Regions from separate parts of the Homo sapiens genome. Here all the other regions are linked to region 2. The links are contacts of gene promoters, found by promoter capture Hi-C in blood cells and fetal thymus (Javierre and others, 2016). All regions are on one chromosome and are shown on one strand. The core of a region is centred on a gene start or on the middle of the fragment in contact, and the rest is flanking DNA. Distances in the headings are between cores, read along the strand shown. Region 1 overlaps STAU2 (staufen double-stranded RNA binding protein 2). Region 2 holds the start of GDAP1 (ganglioside induced differentiation associated protein 1). Region 3 overlaps STAU2 (staufen double-stranded RNA binding protein 2). Region 4 overlaps STAU2 (staufen double-stranded RNA binding protein 2). Region 5 overlaps UBE2W (ubiquitin conjugating enzyme E2 W).

Region 1 (3,414 bases), core at 180-2,679, 630 kb before region 2:
ACACATCCTACATACAAGTTACTGATTAGACATATGCTTGGTAAAGATTTTCTTCTAGGCCAGGCGCGGTGGCTCACGCCTGTAATCCCAGTACTTTGGGAGGCCAAGGCAGGTGGATCGTTTTAGGTCAGGAGTTCAAAACCAGTCTGGGCAACATGGTACCCCGCCTCTATTAAAAATACAAAAAGTAGCTGGGCACGGTAGTGTGCGCCTGTGATCCCACCTACTCAGGAGGCTGAGGCACAAGAATCACTTGAGCCCAAGAGGTGAGGGGCTGCAGTGAGCCAAGAAGGTACCACTGCACTCCAGCCTGGGGAACAGAGCAAGACTCTGTCTCCAAAAAAAATAAATAAAGTAGTAGGAAAAAGATGAATTGCTAACAAAGTTGGAGCAAATGGACAGTCATCTTAGAAAATAATAAAGAGGAATCACTACGAAAAAAATAAAAATTTTTTTCCCAAACTGTGGCTTTTCTCTTTATTCTCTTACCAGTGTCTTTTAAAGAGCAGATTTTAATAGTCTAATTTATCAATTTTTATAGTTTGTACTTTTAATGTATATCTAAAAAATTATTACCTAACTGAGGTCTAAAAATTTTTTTCTCCTGTTTTCTTCCACGAACATTATAGTTTTAGGTTTTACATTTAAGTCCAGAAGCCATTTTGAGTTAGTTTTCCTATACAGCGCAAGGTATGAATCCATTTTTTGTATATCAATATCCAATTGTTTCCAACTGTGGAAAAGGCTACATTTCTCCCACTACATTGCCTTTATGTCTTTGTCAAAATTATTAGTTATCTACATATAAGGAGTTTATTTCTGGACTACCAATTCTGTTTCCACTGATCTATTTGTCTTTTGTTGTTGTTGTTGTTGTTGTTGTTGTTGTTGTTGTTGTTTTGAGACGGAGTCTCGCTCTGTCGCCCAGGCTGGAGTGCAGTGGCGCGATCTCAGCTCACTGCAACCTCCACCTCCTGGGTTCAAGCGATTCTGCCGCCTATTTACCTATTTTTACGCCAAACTATTTTACAGCTTTTAATTCTTGAAATCAGGTAGTGTTGGCTCCCACACTGTTCTTTTTCACAGTTGTTTAAAGTTCTTTAAATTTCCACATGAATTTTAGAATCACCCTGTGCAGTTCTATAAAAAAGCCTGCAAAGATTGAAATATAAGTCTCTTAAATCTATAATTTGGTGAAAATCAACATTTTAACAAAGTTGAGTATTCCAACCCATGAAAAGGATACACAGTCACTTCTCATTATTGAGATAATAATATGTCAATGACTGTTATGTGAATCAGCAATTATAGAGCCATTGCTCCCAGGGGAACTAACGTATTAGGTTCTTGCAAGCTTCTGCTGACATTTTTGTGAACTGATCATATGTCATGTTTTATGTGTTTCTGTTTAGAGACTTCTTGTTTAGTATGTATTACTAATATATGTTACTGATTCATTAACATTGAACTCATGTCCAATAGTACTGTTTAACTCCTGCCTGAATAAAGCTTATCTAATGCACATATATTCTCCGTAAGGCATATCAGAGCCTCCTGGTACTTAGAAACACTATATGGCACTTAAACATTACACTTTAAACATTTTAAACATCAAAATAACCATCTTTGTAAACATCAAAATAACCAACAAAAAGCACAAACATGCAAAAAATGCAGCACTAAATAAACCAAGAAAGGGCTACTTGCTTACAGTATGAAACCCAAAATAAGAAAGCAGAGCATTGTCTTGTTTGATCCCAGCTGGGTATATACATGTGCACTGGGTGATTCAAAATGTTTTGCCCCTGCAAGTGTCTGAGAATGACCACAAAAGCACTGCAAGTATTGGTTTTGGGGTTACAAATAAAAATTAGTGAGTAAGCCAATTCCTAGGTAAAGAATCCATGAATAATGAGAATCAACTGTATCTTATTCAGGTATCCTTTAATTTCTTGCAGCAGTATTTTGTAGTTCTCATTTTCTTTAACATATTTTGTTAGACTTATCTCTAAGTAGTTCATATTTTTGATGCTTTTGAAAATGCTACTCTTTTATTTTCATTTATGATTGTTCTCTGCTAATGTATAGAAACACAATTGGTTTTTGCATACTGCTCTTCTATCCTGCAACTCTGCTATAGTAATTTATTAGTTCTAGTAGGATTCCATCAGATTTTCTACATAGACAATCAGGTCATCTGTGAATAAGGACAGTTTTATTCATTTCTTTCCAATCTGAACACCATGCATTTCCTTCTCTTGCATGATGGCATGGGCTAGAACCTCCACGGCAACGTCAAACGGAACTGGTTAAAGTGGACATCCCGTCTTCTTTTTTTAAAATAAGTGTCCAGTTTTGGCCAGGTGTGGTGGCTCACGCCTGTAATCCCAGCACTTTGGGAGGCCGAGGCAGGTGGATCACAAGGTCAGGAGATCGAGACCATCTTGGCCAACCTGGTGAAACCCCGTCTCTACTAAAAAATACAAAAAAATTAGCCAGACATAGTGGCGGGTGTCTGTAGTCCCAGCTACTACAGAGGCTGAGGCAGGAGAATGGCACGAACTCACAAGGGGGAGCTTTCAGTGAGCCGAGATCGTGCCACTTCAGCCTGGGCAACAGAGCGAGACTGTCTCAAAAAAAAAGGTGTCCAGTTTTTCACCAATAAGTACAAGGTCAGCTAATAAGGTTTTTCATAGAAGCACATTAGCAGGCTGGGAAAGTTCACTTCCACTTCTAGTTTGCTGAGAGTCTTTATGATACTGAATATTAGATTTTATCAAATGATTTTTCTGCATCTATTGAGATGATCATGTGATTTTTGCTTTTTAGTTCATTAATATGTTAAATTACACTACTGATTTTTTGGAACACTAAACCAACCCCACATTCCTGGGATAAACCCCACATGGTTATGACATATTATCCTTTTAATAAACTGTTGAATTAGATTTGCTGAAACTTTGTTTAGATTTTTGCAATTATATTTATGAGACATACTGGTCTGTAATTTCCTTAAAATGTATTTGTCTGATTCTGGTATCCCAGTAATGCTGGCATCATGAGCCTTGTAAAAAATTCCTTCCACTTCAATATTTTTAAAAGCATATAAAATTGATATTATTTTTTCCTTAACTTGTATAATTCACCAGTGAAACTATCCGGACCTAGAGTTTTCTTTTTAAGTAGACTTTTACTACAATTTTTATTTCTTTAGCATATAAAAAGCTACTCAGGGCTAGGCATGATAGCTCATGTCTGTAACCCTACCACTTCAGGCCAAAGCAAGAGGATCACTTGAGCCCAGGAGTTGGAGACCAGTCAGTACAACATGGTGAAACCTTATCTCTACAAACATTAAAAATAAAAAAATTAGCCAGGCATGGTAGCATGTGCCTGAAGTCCCAGCTAGGAGGC
Region 2 (3,298 bases), core at 256-2,755:
TTTTATGTATCCATTTTTTACACACAATGAAGTCAAAGCTCAAGAAAGCTCAAGTTAGGGTAGAGCTAGAATTTAAACCCCACTCTGTCCGATTTCAAAGTTTTCCTCTTTCCGCTCTTACTCTTAAGTGTGAACTGATAAAAACAATTTTGGCAAGGAATTCACCTTTTCTATAGCACTTGAATTAACTGAAGGATATAAAAGACATTATGAAATCTTAAAAAATTATGAAAGAATTACAGAGAGTAACAAATGAAGTACTGTAAAGGCAAGGAAGAACCTCATGAGATTTTGTCTTTTCCAGGGGCCCTTCTCTGACCTGGGTTGGCTGCCTGCCCCTCCTTTCTCATAGTACTCTGTGTTCACCCTAAGACAGTTCTCATCTTTATTGTGATTGTCTATTTCCTTGGTCGTCTCTACTGCCAGATTATATCTTGAGTGTTAGATATTAGATTTCACACATCTTTATATTACCAGGAGCCAGCACAATGTCTGGAACAGTGTAGGTGCTCAATAAATATTTGCCAGATAAATTATACAGGCATTTATTCTATGGTCATATTTATACATATTACTGAAAGAGATTTTTAAAATCAACTTACTATATGATGCCAAATTTTTAAAGACATACAATAATAACTAGACTAATATAAAATTATGATTCTGACTATGGTTATAACAGAATGTTTATAAGACAACTGAACCTGTGACTAAGACTGAGTGCCTACAACGTGACAGGGTGTTCTGAGTGTTTAACATTTTATTATTAATTTTTCACAAAAATCTTATGAGGGAAACAATAAAATTATTATTCTTACTTAGAAAATGGAAAAACCAGGATATGAACTTAGGCAGTACTGTTGTAGAATTTTTGTGTTTAACAACTAGGCTATTTTATATCGCCATTGTTTATTAGCTGTTTATGACAAAAACAGTTTTTTTGCATGACTCCATAGTGGTATTTTTTTTTCTTTTACAAAGCACAGTTTAATTATCAAAATCAAGTACTTACTGTTTATACAAGACTATTCTCTAATCTACAGCAGTTAGTCAAATTTGTGGAATTAGTCCACTAATGTCATAGTAGCATCTTCTAATGAAAGCTCATAGATCCTTTTCCTGTTGCTTTGCTTGTCGACCGGAACTTCCTTTCCAACAAAGGAACAGGCTCCAAGAGCAACCCTCAGTATCTTGGGAAATTGCTGCTTTTATACCTGAGCAACCTCCAAACCGAAGAGTAATTTGCTATCATCATTCTTCCTTACTGCCCTTCATAACCAGGGTCTCATATTTTTTATTTTTTCTTCTAAAAAAAAAAACAAACCCAAAAAACAACCGTTCAATTGCACCTCCCAGGTGCACTCCCAGGCTTGCCAGGGGCTTTCCAGTCGCAGACCCCGCGTGTTCGCAGACTCTGCCGCCGGCGAAACTACATTTCCCAGCGGGCCGCGCGCCCTCCTTCCGGCAGGTACCCCTCAAAACCCGGAAACGCCTTGCGGGGCAGTGTGGGAGGGAGAAGTCCAGGGCGGACAGGCTGGGCGCACCCGTGCTCGCGCACCCCAAGATGGCTGAGAGGCAGGAAGAGCAGAGAGGGAGCCCGCCCTTGAGGGCGGAAGGCAAGGCCGACGCGGAGGTTAAGCTCATTCTGTACCATTGGACGCATTCCTTCAGCTCTCAAAAGGTACAACAGGCCTTGGCGGCGGAGGGTGGCGCGGATCGGGCTTCAGCACTGGGACAGCTCCTTCTGAGTCCCGCCCAGGGAAGCCGGTCCACCTAGAAATCCGCCTCCAGTGTCCTGACCCCGGGCAGGCGCTCCCTCCAGGCGGGGACGCGCCCGGGTGGGGAGCGGGGAGAATCGATCGGAGATGATCCTATGTGGCTATGGCCCAGGCTCCGCCTCTCGCGAAATGCGACAAAAAAGCATCATTTTCAGTATTTGGTCTGGAGGCCTTGCCTGCTGGTCTTCGGAGAGAGGCAGAGGGAGGTGCCTTTGTGGACCCTCATAATCTGCGATCTCTTCTTTTGCTCTCTCGCATTCACTGTCTTCAGCAAGAGCTGATGTACCTACATGTCAGGTTCTTGTCTGGGGAGGACCCATAATCAGGTTTAGGACACCGAGAAAGTGGTAGTGATGAGGAGGGTGACTGTTTAATGAATACAGTCAGAATCATTTCATTACTTATTTTGTGTTCTTCTCTTAATTTGTTGAGTATTGTTCTTTCCTTACTTGTTAATTCCAGGAATAGGAATTGTTAAAACGACTGTTGAAAATGTCGGTAACACAGGGAAGCCCAGAAAGGCTGCTTAGCGGTGTCCAGGGAAGTCATTTAATTGAAAGCTTACATGTGTTGTAGTAACCAGTGTGAACTCTTCCAGGTGCGCTTGGTAATTGCTGAAAAGGCATTGAAGTGCGAGGAACATGATGTAAGTCTGCCCTTGAGTGAGCACAATGAGCCTTGGTTTATGCGTTTGAACTCAACTGGAGAAGTGCCTGTCCTTATCCACGGGGAAAACATAATTTGTGAGGCCACTCAGATCATTGATTATCTTGAACAGACTTTCCTGGATGGTAATGTTAAGGCTACTTGCGATTTCTTGGATTTACTTTCAACACAACTATGTGTTCCCTTTCTCTTTTTCTCTCTCTCCTCTCTCTCTTTCTCTTGTGTCATGATGGTGGTTTGGGATTAAAAACCTTTTCCATTTCCATAAGCACACAAATATCAAATAGGTCAATAACAAATTTTGTATAGGCTAGTGTAATGCTATTTAAAATAATTTAATGCAAAATACAAATGTTAATGTTGAAACTTAAAAAAATTCACTTGCAAAAAACTGCAAATGTGTGGTTTGTGTTGGTGATTTCTTAGTCTTAAATTCATAATATTCTAAATGTGCACTGTGACGATTTCATCTAATATACCAAATGGTTTCACCTTAAAAACAAGAGGGAAAAAAGAGCAATAAATCTTAAAGGAGAATAGAATGTTAGTATACCTGAGTTCTTTGCCCCAGTCACTTCTGAATTGTTTGAATTTTATATCTTTACTAAGGAATTATAGGGCTTAAATTTGTATAGTGCATTTAGGTAAATCATTTATTAACAGCTTGTTATGTGTCAGACATTTTATAATTTCTTCAATAATGTCTTCAAAAGTATCTGTCTGAGACAGGCATGGTAGACAAGTTATTCCCATTATGTAAATGAGGAGAAAGCAACAGGGTTGCCCAAAGTAATATAGCTATTGTATGGCAGAGTCTTTGGTCTCCAAAGCCTTCATACTACACTGACTGTCTC
Region 3 (3,297 bases), core at 630-3,129, 670 kb before region 2:
TCATGCACTGCTCATGAATATTAATTCCTCCCAGCTACGTATAAAACTTAATCTCGTAAAGCTGGCATTCAAGTCGTCCCAATTCACTCACTAACTACATCTCCAGTCTTACCTCCTACTAGTCATTTACCTGCTCTAATTAAAAACCATCTATAAAATTTTTTTTTTACCAAATCCATTGTCCAGATTCCTACTTCAAAGCCTTTCCTCATAGTATTCCCTCTGGCTAAAATATTCTTTCCTCTCATCTATAACTGCCTACTTTTCGGTCAAGGCCTGTATCTTACTTCAACTACTTCAGTCCATGTTTATCATTACCTGTAATACTGATGGCTGTTATTGTCTACTTGGCACTTAATCTTTACCATCAAATTACGTGTTCATATATAAGACTGTAAGACACTCACTGAAAGGGACAATGTTTTATTTCTCTTAGATATGTAAAAAGCAAGTGTTAAATATATCATGGTGGTGGTATGCTACTAATGATCAACCAGTATTCTGAAGAGGCTTTTAAAAATTAAAGAAATGGACAATCTTTTAGGAACTTCAAAATGAAGAGAATAAGTTTTTTTTCTATTGTAATAATATTTTGGCTTATTTAAGCTTAATAAATACTGCAATCAGTTGAACAGAAGCAGAGACTTGCAATCAGAAAGCCATGGATTCTGCAGAGTAGTCCTTGAAAGAGCAGAGAATGTCAACCTAGCACAGACCACATGAGAATGAAACAAGTGTCTATGTGATTTGATTATGAATATAACCAAGTAGAGAATGATTAAATACATTTTAGAGTTATTGTTGACAGGCACAAAATCTTTCTTAACCTCCATAACAAAAATATCTAAGGCGAAATTAATATTGACTAGAAGGTAACCACTTGAATTAATCAGTTAACAAATGAATGAGTAAATGGATATATGGCTGGTACTAAAGTTATAGTAATTCCATTAACCTAATGTTATCAATTAATACACTATGTCCAAAATACAGGTTTGCCTTTCCCAATAGATAACGGGACATATAGATTCACTGAGGTCACCCGGAGAAAATGATGGATATCAGGCAGGACTAACTTGAGGCTCCCACTCAGGACAAAACAGCATGTGGAGACTCACAGTGTAAACTCTGCTCCAAGAACCACCACAAGAACATACCAGGAAAACTGAAAGAATTCACAGACCCTTTGAAAGAAGCAGCTTGCCGCTGCAAACTCCATGAGACAGCCAAAACACCGTGAGTGCCCAAAGTGTGAGAGGGGGAAAGTCTGCCTCCAAACACACATCCTCACTGGGGAACCTGAAAATCCAGATCACAGAAGAATTTAACCTTACCTAGGACTGAAACAAATTTAGAGAGCTGAGCGAAATATAAAAGTAGAAGAAGCAGGCCAGGAATGGTGGGTCATGCCTGTAATCCCAACACTTTGGGAGGCCAAGGTGAGTGGATCGCTTGAGCCCAGTTTGAGACAAGCCTGGCTAATATGGTGAAACCCTGTTTCTACTAAAAATACAAAAAAAAAAAAAATTAGCTGGGCAAGGTGGTGCACACCTGTAATCCCAGCTACTTGGGAGGCTGAGGCAGGAGAATTGCTTGAGCCCAGGAGGCGGAGGCTGCAGTAAGCCAAGATCAACGCCACTGCACTCCAACCTGGGTGACAGACTGAGACTCCACCTAAAAAAAAAAACAAAACAAAAACAAAAACAAAAACTAGAAGCAGCAGCGATAAGAGACCCCTGTAGACACTCCCAGTCCCTAGGGAAGCCATTTTTTTTTTTTTTTTTTTTTTTTTTACTTTCATCTCACAGTGGTCCTTGGGGAAGGCAGTCAGTGGAACTAGGGAAGTACCACAGTGAGAAAGACTTCTAGCTGAACGCTGTCATAATTTTGACTGAATGCAAATTTTCCTGGGCAGAATCTGGGTGGGGGGTGGGGGAGGAGGTGGGAATAGGGGGCCGGCGGGAATAGGGGGCCAATGGAAAGTACAGATATGAGAACAGAAGCCACTGCAGGCATGGAAGGGCAAGGCCTGAAAGCCCTGCTTGCTTTCTTAGCAGGAAGACTTCTAGCCTAGGGCAAATGCTTTTTCTGCAGACACTCCCCAATACCAGCCTGGAGTCCAGTAGCTCCACTGGGTAGCTAGACCCAGAAGAAAAATAACCATCGCTGCAGTTCAGCTCTCAGGAAGCCCCATTCATAGGGAAACGGGGAGAGAACCACATCAAGGGATCATCCCGTGGGATAAAAGAATCTGAACAGCAGATTCAAGATCTTGCCTCTGACACAGTATATCCAAATGAGAAGAAACCAGAAAAACAATTCTGGTAATATGACAAAACAAGGTTCTATAACACCCTCAAAAGATCACACTAGTTCACCAGCGATGGATCCAAACCAGGAAGAAATATCTGAATTACCAGAAAAAGAATTCAGTAGGTCGGTTATTAAGCAGCTCAAGGAGGCACTAGAGAAAGGTGAAAGGCAACTTAAAGAAATTTTTAAAATAATACAAGACATGGATGAAAAAATTTCCAGAGAAATAGAATCATAAATAAAAAAGAGTCACAACTTCTGAAAATGAAAGACACACTTAGAGGCATGCAAAATATACTGCAAAGTTTCAACAATAGAATCAAACAAGCAGAAGAAAGAACTTCAGAGCTCAAAGACAAGGCCTAATCAAATTAACCCAATCTGACACAGACAAAGGAAAAAGAATTTTAAAAAATGAACAAAGCCTCCAAGAAGTTTGGGATTATGTTAAATGACCAAACCTAAGAATAAGTGGTGTTCCTGAGGAAGAAGAAAAATCTAAAAGTTTGGAAAACTTAGAGGGAATAATCAAGGAAAACTTCCTGGCCTTGCTGGAGATCTAGACATCCAAATACAAGAAGGTCAAGGAACACCCAGGGAATTCATTGCAAAAAGATCATCACCTAGGCACACAGTCAATCAGGTTATCTAAAGTCAAGTCAAAGGAAATAATCTTAAGATCTGTGAGGCAAAAGCACCAGGTAACCTATAAAGAAAAACCTATCCGATAAATAGCAGATTTCTCAGCATAAAATCTACAAGCCAGATGGAATTGAGGTCCTATCTTTAGCCTCCTTAAATAAAATAATTATCAGTCAAGAATTTTATGTCCAGTGAAACTAAGCTTCATTAATGACGGAAAGATAAAAGTCTTTTTCAGGCAAACAAATGCTGAGAGAATTTGCCACTATCAAGTCAGCACTAAAGAAGTAATAAAATGAATTATTAAATCTTGAAACAAAGCCTCAGAATACACCAAAACAG
Region 4 (3,395 bases), core at 521-3,020, 690 kb before region 2:
GTCAGTCTTTTTAAACTTTAGCTATGGTTTTAATTTGCATTTCCCTGATGACTAATCACTTTGAGCATCTTTTCATGTGTTTATTAGCCATTCTTATCTCTATTGTCTATTCAAAAATATTGTCCATTTTTGCCTTATTAATGAGTTGTAGGTATTCCTTTATATATTCTGAAGTCCTCTTTCAAATATATGTATTACGAATGTTTCCTTCTAATATATGTCTTGCTTTTTCATTTTGTAAAAAGTGTCTTTCTAGTACCAGAAGTTTAAATTTTGATGACTTATAATTTCTCAATTTTTTCATGATCCATGTTTAAATTTTGATGACATGTAATTTCTCAATTGTTGCATGATCCGTGCTTTTTGTGTTCTAAGAAATCTTTGTCTATTTCCAAAGTAGCAAAGTATTTTCTTCTGGAAATTTTACTTTAACTTTTACATATATGTCTATGACCCATTTCTGATTTATTTTTGTCTGTGGTGTGAAGTCAAGGTTCAGGGGTTTTTGTTGTTGTTGTTGTTGTTGTTGTTGTTGTTTTTGAGACAGAGTTTCACTCCTGTTGCCAGGCTGGAGTGCAATGGCACAATCTCAGCTCACCACAACCTCTGCCTCCCGGGTTCAAGCAATTCTCCTGCCTCAGCCTCCTGAGTAGCTGGGGTTACAGGCATGCGCCACCATGCCAGGCTAATTTTGTATTTTTAGTAGAGACAGGTTTTCTCCATGTTGGTCAGGCTGGTCTCGAACTCCTGACCTCAGGTAATCCACCTGCCTCAGCCTCCCAAAGTGCTGGGATTACAGGCATGAGCCACCGCGCCCAGCCCAGGTTCTTTTTTTTTTCTGTCAGAAAGGCCAATTATTTTACTATTATTTGTTGGAAAGAGTATCCTTTCCCCATTAGCACCTTCACTGGAATTAATTTTGAAAGAATTAAATTGTTCATATATGGATTGATCTATTTCTTGCCTCCATATTCCAGAGATCAGCAAACTTCTGTAAAGGGCCCAATATAAAATATTTTGGGCTTTGCAGGCCATATGATCTATTACATCTATTCGACTCTGCTGTTGTAACACAAAAGCAGACTATAAATAAGCAAGTATATACAACACATAAGCAAGTGACTGTGGCTGTGTTCCAATGACACTTTACTGACACACACTAGAATTTCAATTTCATCTAAATGTCATGTGTTGTAAAATATCATTTTATTTTTGATGTTTTTCCAACCACTTGCAAATGTAAAAAACATTACTTAGCTTGCAAGCCATACAAAAACAGGCAAGCCAGACGTGACCCATGGGCTATAGTTTGCCAACTGCTGTTTTATTCTGTTCCACTGATCCATATATCTGTCCCTATGTTAATTTTCTGCTGTCTTGATTATTGTAGCTTTATAGCAAATCTTGAAGTCAGGTAGTGTGGGCCAGCCAATTTTGTTCTTTTCAAAATTGCTTTGGCTACTGCAAAAACAATTTGCAGTAGCCAAATTGTTTTTTTGCATCTCCAAATGTCAGCACTACTTTATTAATTTTACCAAAAAAAAAAAAACTCTACTATGATTTTTGTTACAACTGCATTGCATCTTCACATCAACTTTGAGAGAACTGAAATCTTAAATAATAGAGTCTTCTTTAATTTGAGCAGTATTTTATAGCCTTCATTATACAGGTTGTGTACCTATTTTATTAAATTTATCTCTGAATATGTTTTCACGCTATTTAATTCCCCAACTGCTCATTACTATTTACTAGAAATACCACTGATTTTTGTATACTAACCTTGCAACTTGTGGCCTTACTAAATTCACTTATTCAGTAGCTTTTCAGTACTTTTGATTTATTATTTTCTACATACAGAATCATGGTGTCTATGAAGATAGTTTTATATCTCCTATTCCAATATTCCCCCATTTGTTTCTTCTTATTGTTGCACTTGATAGAACTCAAGTATAATGTGGGGTTCTTTGTTGTTTTTTTGAGGTGGGGTCTCACTGCGTTGCCTAGGCTGGAATGCAGTGGCGATCACAGCTCACTGAAGCCTTGACTTCCCAGGCCCAGGCAATCCTCCCACCTCAGTCTCCCAAGTAGCTGGGACTAGAGGCACACGCCAACAGAGATGGGGTTTGGTCATGTTTCCCAGGCTGGCCTCAAACTCCTAAGCTCAAGCAATCTGCCCACCTCGACCTCCCAAAGTGCTGGGATTACAGGCATGAGCCACCGTACCAGTCCTTAAGTATAATGTTGAACAGAAGTGATAACAGTGTGTATTACTGCCTTGTTCCTGATCTTACAAGTATTCAGTCTTTCACTATAAAGCATAATGTTATCTGGAGGTTGTTTGAAGAAGCCCTTTATCAGATTAAGAAAGTTCTCTTCCATTCCTAGTTTGCTGAGTCTATATCATTAGTGAGCGCTGACTTCTGTCAAATGTTTTTTCTGCACCTAATGAGATACTGATATGGTTGTTCTCCTTTATTCTATTAATTGGGTTAATTACTTTGATTACTGAATACTAAATTCATCTTGCTTTCCTAGAATAAACTTCATTTAATCATAATGTTATTTAAATTCGGCTGAATTTAATTTGCTGATATTTTGTTAAGAATTTTTATCTGGCTGGGCATGGTGGCTCATGCCTGTAATCCCAGCACTTTGGGAGGACGAGGTGGGCAGATCACTTGAGGTCTGCAGATCAAGACCAGCCTGGGCAACATGTTGAAACCCTGTCTCTACCAAAAATGCAAAAAATTAGCCAGGTGTGGTGGCATGCGCCTGTAGTCCCAGGTACTCGGGAAATTGAGGCATGAGAATCGCTCGAACCTGGGAAGCAAAAGTTGCAGTGAGCCAAGATCAGGCCACTATACTCCAGCCTGGGCAACAGAGCAAGACTGTCTCAAAAAATAATAATAATAATTTTTATATCTGTGACCATGGGGGATACTGATCTTAAGTTCACTCTTCCTCATCCTTGCTTTGGTAACTTGTTCAAATTTTCTTCTCTGGTTTATGAGAGTTTTAAAAAGACATTTCTAATGCGTCTTTGTTATGGGTTTAGGTTAATTTCTCCCAAATAAAAAAAAATCCTAATTTAACATTAATGTTAATAATTTAACATTATTTTTAACAAAATATTTAAAAAGTTACCTTGCTGCCTATCTTTCAGTTCTACATCTATTCTATAAAGTGATATCTACATGAAGTAGAATCAGTTTAAGAGTTCTGACACACATTCCATGTGTAAAGCATATGAGAAAAGAGAAAAGAATATATTCCCCAAACCAAGGGATGTAGTATACAAAAGGCAAAGTTCTATATCTATTGAAACAAATTGGGCTTTTCACCACTTTATGCTTACTTCATTTATCCAAGAGAATTTAATGTTGTATACTTGGATG
Region 5 (3,264 bases), core at 736-3,235, 520 kb before region 2:
GGCAGAGGCAGAAGAATCGCTTGAACCCGGGAGGCAGAGGTTGCAGTGAGCTGAGACTGCGCCACTGCACTACAGCCTGGGCGACAGAGTGAGACTCCACCTCAAAAAAAAAAAAAAAAAAAAAAAAGCCATAGTTCTCCATAATCCTTAAAGAATGTCATTTCACAGACAAGCTTTCCAGAGAAACTCTAAAAGTAACCCTTTATGCAAAAAGCCTTTCAAAAATTTTATGCCTTGTGACGAGAATGAAATAAGAAAAAAGAAAAGAAAATATTAATAAAATTTTAAATGATTTTATATGTATAATTTTTAAAAAATTTTAAAGTAATTTTAATATATAATGATCACCTGCACAGTTTAATATTTCAAGGTTATTGTTAATGAACATCGTTTATAGTAGAACATCAGAATACAACATATTATGATCTGAGATATGTTAAGGTTTTCTTCCTACATATTAGGTATCCTAAAATGGCTACGTATTTTGCACGCTTATTTGTACAGCTTTTATTGTACACCTCTTCCCTTGTTATCATCAGTGGACATACTTTTTCAGTGTACAACCAGGCAAAAACAAAACAAAACAAAACAAAACACAGTAGTCCCTAATTTATGAATTTTAAAACCAAATAACTAATGTTATTAAAATTGCATGCAAGATTATAAAGGGTCTTAATATGACTTTTTTTTCAGAGACAGGGTCTCGCTATGTTGCCCAAGCTGGAGTACACAGGTGCAATCCCACTACTGATTGGCATGGGAGTTTTGACCTGCTCTGTTTCTGACCTGGATCGTTCACCCCTCCTCCTGAGACAACCTGGTGGTCCCTCGCTCCCGAGAGGTCACCATATTGATGCCGAACTCAATGTGGACACCCAATCGACATAGTGCATGACAGCCCAGAACTCCTGCCGCAGCTTTCCAAATAGCTGGGACAACAGGCACCTACACTACACCCAGCGTAAGTCTTTTCTTAAAGTGAAGAAGACAAGTATGGATATCTGTTCATTTCTTAAGAGTACTCTGCTTAAAAATTGGTTTCTGTTTTTTCTGGACAATGAAATATTACTATCAGTAAGTAATGTTTCTACGTCTTTTCAATTTATGTCACTTAAAATAAGCTTAGCCATCCAACACCACTACAGATAGAAAACTGTGTTGTGAATCACTGTAATGGACTTTAAATTTGCTTAAATAATTTGTTTTGAATAAAGACAAATTTATGCAAATTTCTGTTTGAACAAGGTTTTAATTATTTTCTACTGATATTCACAAATGAGGGTTCTGTGATCACGTACATTTTTTTAAAAACTGGGTCAAACAAAGAACTGGCTTCTTCAACAGAACTTTCCATATACTAACTTGTACAGTCATTGTCCAAAGGCAAGATGACATAAAGAGGTTTCCAAAAATAGCTGAGCACAGTGATGCATGCCTGTAGTCCCAGCTACTCAGGGGGCTGAGGCAGGAGAATTGTTTGAGTCTAGAAGTTGGAGTCCAGCCTGGGCAACACAGCAAGAACTTGTCTCTAATAACATTAAACAAGGCCAGGCACAGTGGCTCAAGCCTGTAATTCCAGCACTTTGGGAGGTCAAGGAGCATGTAATGCCTGAGGTCAGGAGTTCAAGACTAGCCTGGGCAACATGGCGAAACCTCGTCTCTACTACAAATACAAAAATTAGCTAGGAGTGGTGGCATGCGCCTGTAATCCCAGCTACTCGGGAGGCTGAGGCACAAGAATAGCTTGAACTCGGGAGGCGGAGGTTGCAGTGAGCCTAGATCACGCGAATGCACTGCAGCCTGGGCTATAGAGTGAGACTCCATCTCAATAAAATAAAATAAACAAAAAACTCCCAACAACAACAAAAAAGAGGTTTCCAAAGATAATAGAACCCTTTGTAGAGCGTCTCAAGCCTTGTTTCAAGGACCATATTTTGGGAAACACTGCTGCAGAAATCTTCCAGATCTTGAGAACTTTACTAAGTCAAGAAGGATAATCCTTCTTAGTAGGAGAAGCAAGAATATAAAGGAGAATCAATCTGCATAACTACCAAGCGAAACACAAGACAACAAAAGCAAACTAAACTAAAAAAGCGCTTTATTGGTATATCATCCCTGGTCTCCTGAACATAATGGAAAAGGGTTCTATAGAAAAAAAAAAAAAAGTTTCTCCTTACCCTTAGACTTCTTTCATCTCCACAAAGGAAGGGACCTATGATAGCCAACTTTCAAGATAATTCCCAACAAACTCTAAAGGTCCTAGTATTCACACCCTTGTGTAGTTCCCTCCCTCAGAGCTGATCTGTGTGACCAATGGAATACAGCAGAAATGGTGTGTCACTCCCAAGATTAGATTATTTTAAAAACTATGGTTTCTGTGGCCGGGTGCGATGGCTCATGCCTGTAATCCCAGTACTTTGGGAGGCCGAGGTGGGTGAATCACCTGAGGTCAGGAATTCGGGACCAGCCTGACTAATATGGTGAAAACCTGTCTCTACTAAAAATACAAAAAATCAGCTGGGCGTGGTGGCATGCGTCTGTAATCTCGGCTACTCGGGAGGCTGAGACAGGAGAATTGCTTGTACCCGGGAGGCAGAGGTTGCAGTGAGTGAGATCAAGCTGCTGCACTCCAGCCTGGGCGAGAGAGCGAGACTTTGCCTCAAAAAACAACAAAACAAAACAAAACACTATGGTTTCTGTCTTGGTAATTCTCTCTCTCAAATCACTTGCTCTGGAGGAATCAAGCTATCATGTTGAGAACAGCCTAATTCAGAGGCCTTCATAGTGAGGAACTGAAACCTCCTACCAATAACCATGTGATGATTTGTAGGCAAATCCTTCAATTCAAATCAAGCTTTCAGATGACTACTATCTTAGCCAGTACCTTACCTGCAAACTCAAGAGGGACCCTAAGCCAGAATCAAACAACTATGCCTCTGATTCCTGACCCTCGGAACTGTGAAATAACATTTGTTGTTTTAAATCGCTAAGTTTAAGGGTTTGTTACGCACTGATAGATAATACAGGACCACTGCTCCATCCTCCCCTCCATCCCAGAAGGGACTGTCATCTACTTCCTCATCAATATCACTAAGTCACAATCTAAGACATTCACTGGACCATGCTTTTTTACTGAGGGGGTGGAATTATTACATTAAAAAAAGACAATTCATGCCAGCCCCCAGCCTTCTTAGCTACTAGGCAATAAACTGCCTTGCATATTCACATCCCCTGAAATAGTGAGAGAGAAGGGCCAGCATTTGG

Evidence for each region. Contacts are between HindIII fragments. The CHiCAGO score rates a contact against its expected background, and 5 or more counts as called.
Region 1: a contact is called between a fragment that was not itself captured here and the fragment with the promoter of GDAP1 in region 2, in 1 of 17 cell types (fetal thymus). The highest score is 5.6, in fetal thymus.
Region 3: a contact is called between a fragment that was not itself captured here and the fragment with the promoter of GDAP1 in region 2, in 11 of 17 cell types (naive B cells, activated CD4 T cells, total B cells and 8 more). The highest score is 13.3, in naive B cells.
Region 4: a contact is called between a fragment that was not itself captured here and the fragment with the promoter of GDAP1 in region 2, in 1 of 17 cell types (fetal thymus). The highest score is 5.5, in fetal thymus.
Region 5: a fragment that was not itself captured here is called in contact with the fragment with the promoter of GDAP1 in region 2 in 1 of 17 cell types (total B cells); the score reaches 6.4 in total B cells.

The regions. Positions count from the first base shown.
Region 1 is chr8:73,716,765-73,720,178 of GRCh38, forward strand. All of the region lies in intron 3 of STAU2 (staufen double-stranded RNA binding protein 2), which reads right to left. Among named protein-coding and RNA genes, the nearest start is that of STAU2, 28 kb to the right of the region's middle. The HindIII fragment of the contact is 155 bases long and covers 1,353-1,507 here.
Region 2 is chr8:74,348,898-74,352,195 of GRCh38, forward strand. It overlaps GDAP1 (ganglioside induced differentiation associated protein 1), which reads left to right and starts at 1,506. Exons shown (of 6, transcript NM_018972.4): 1 at 1,506-1,681; 2 at 2,377-2,569. The coding sequence starts at 1,565. RefSeq lists an enhancer at 1,519-1,748. The HindIII fragment of the contact is 8,708 bases long and covers 1-2,336 here.
Region 3 is chr8:73,678,212-73,681,508 of GRCh38, forward strand. The region is part of intron 5 of STAU2 (staufen double-stranded RNA binding protein 2); the gene reads right to left. Among named protein-coding and RNA genes, the nearest start is that of STAU2, 67 kb to the right of the region's middle. The HindIII fragment of the contact is 2,551 bases long and covers 605-3,155 here.
Region 4 is chr8:73,662,095-73,665,489 of GRCh38, forward strand. The region is part of intron 6 of STAU2 (staufen double-stranded RNA binding protein 2); the gene reads right to left. Among named protein-coding and RNA genes, the nearest start is that of STAU2, 83 kb to the right of the region's middle. RefSeq lists a silencer at 3,380-3,395. The HindIII fragment of the contact is 9,464 bases long and covers 1-3,395 here.
Region 5 is chr8:73,833,082-73,836,345 of GRCh38, forward strand. The region is part of intron 1 of UBE2W (ubiquitin conjugating enzyme E2 W); the gene reads right to left. It also overlaps the pseudogene RN7SL760P. Among named protein-coding and RNA genes, the nearest start is that of UBE2W, 44 kb to the right of the region's middle. The HindIII fragment of the contact is 1,733 bases long and covers 1,120-2,852 here.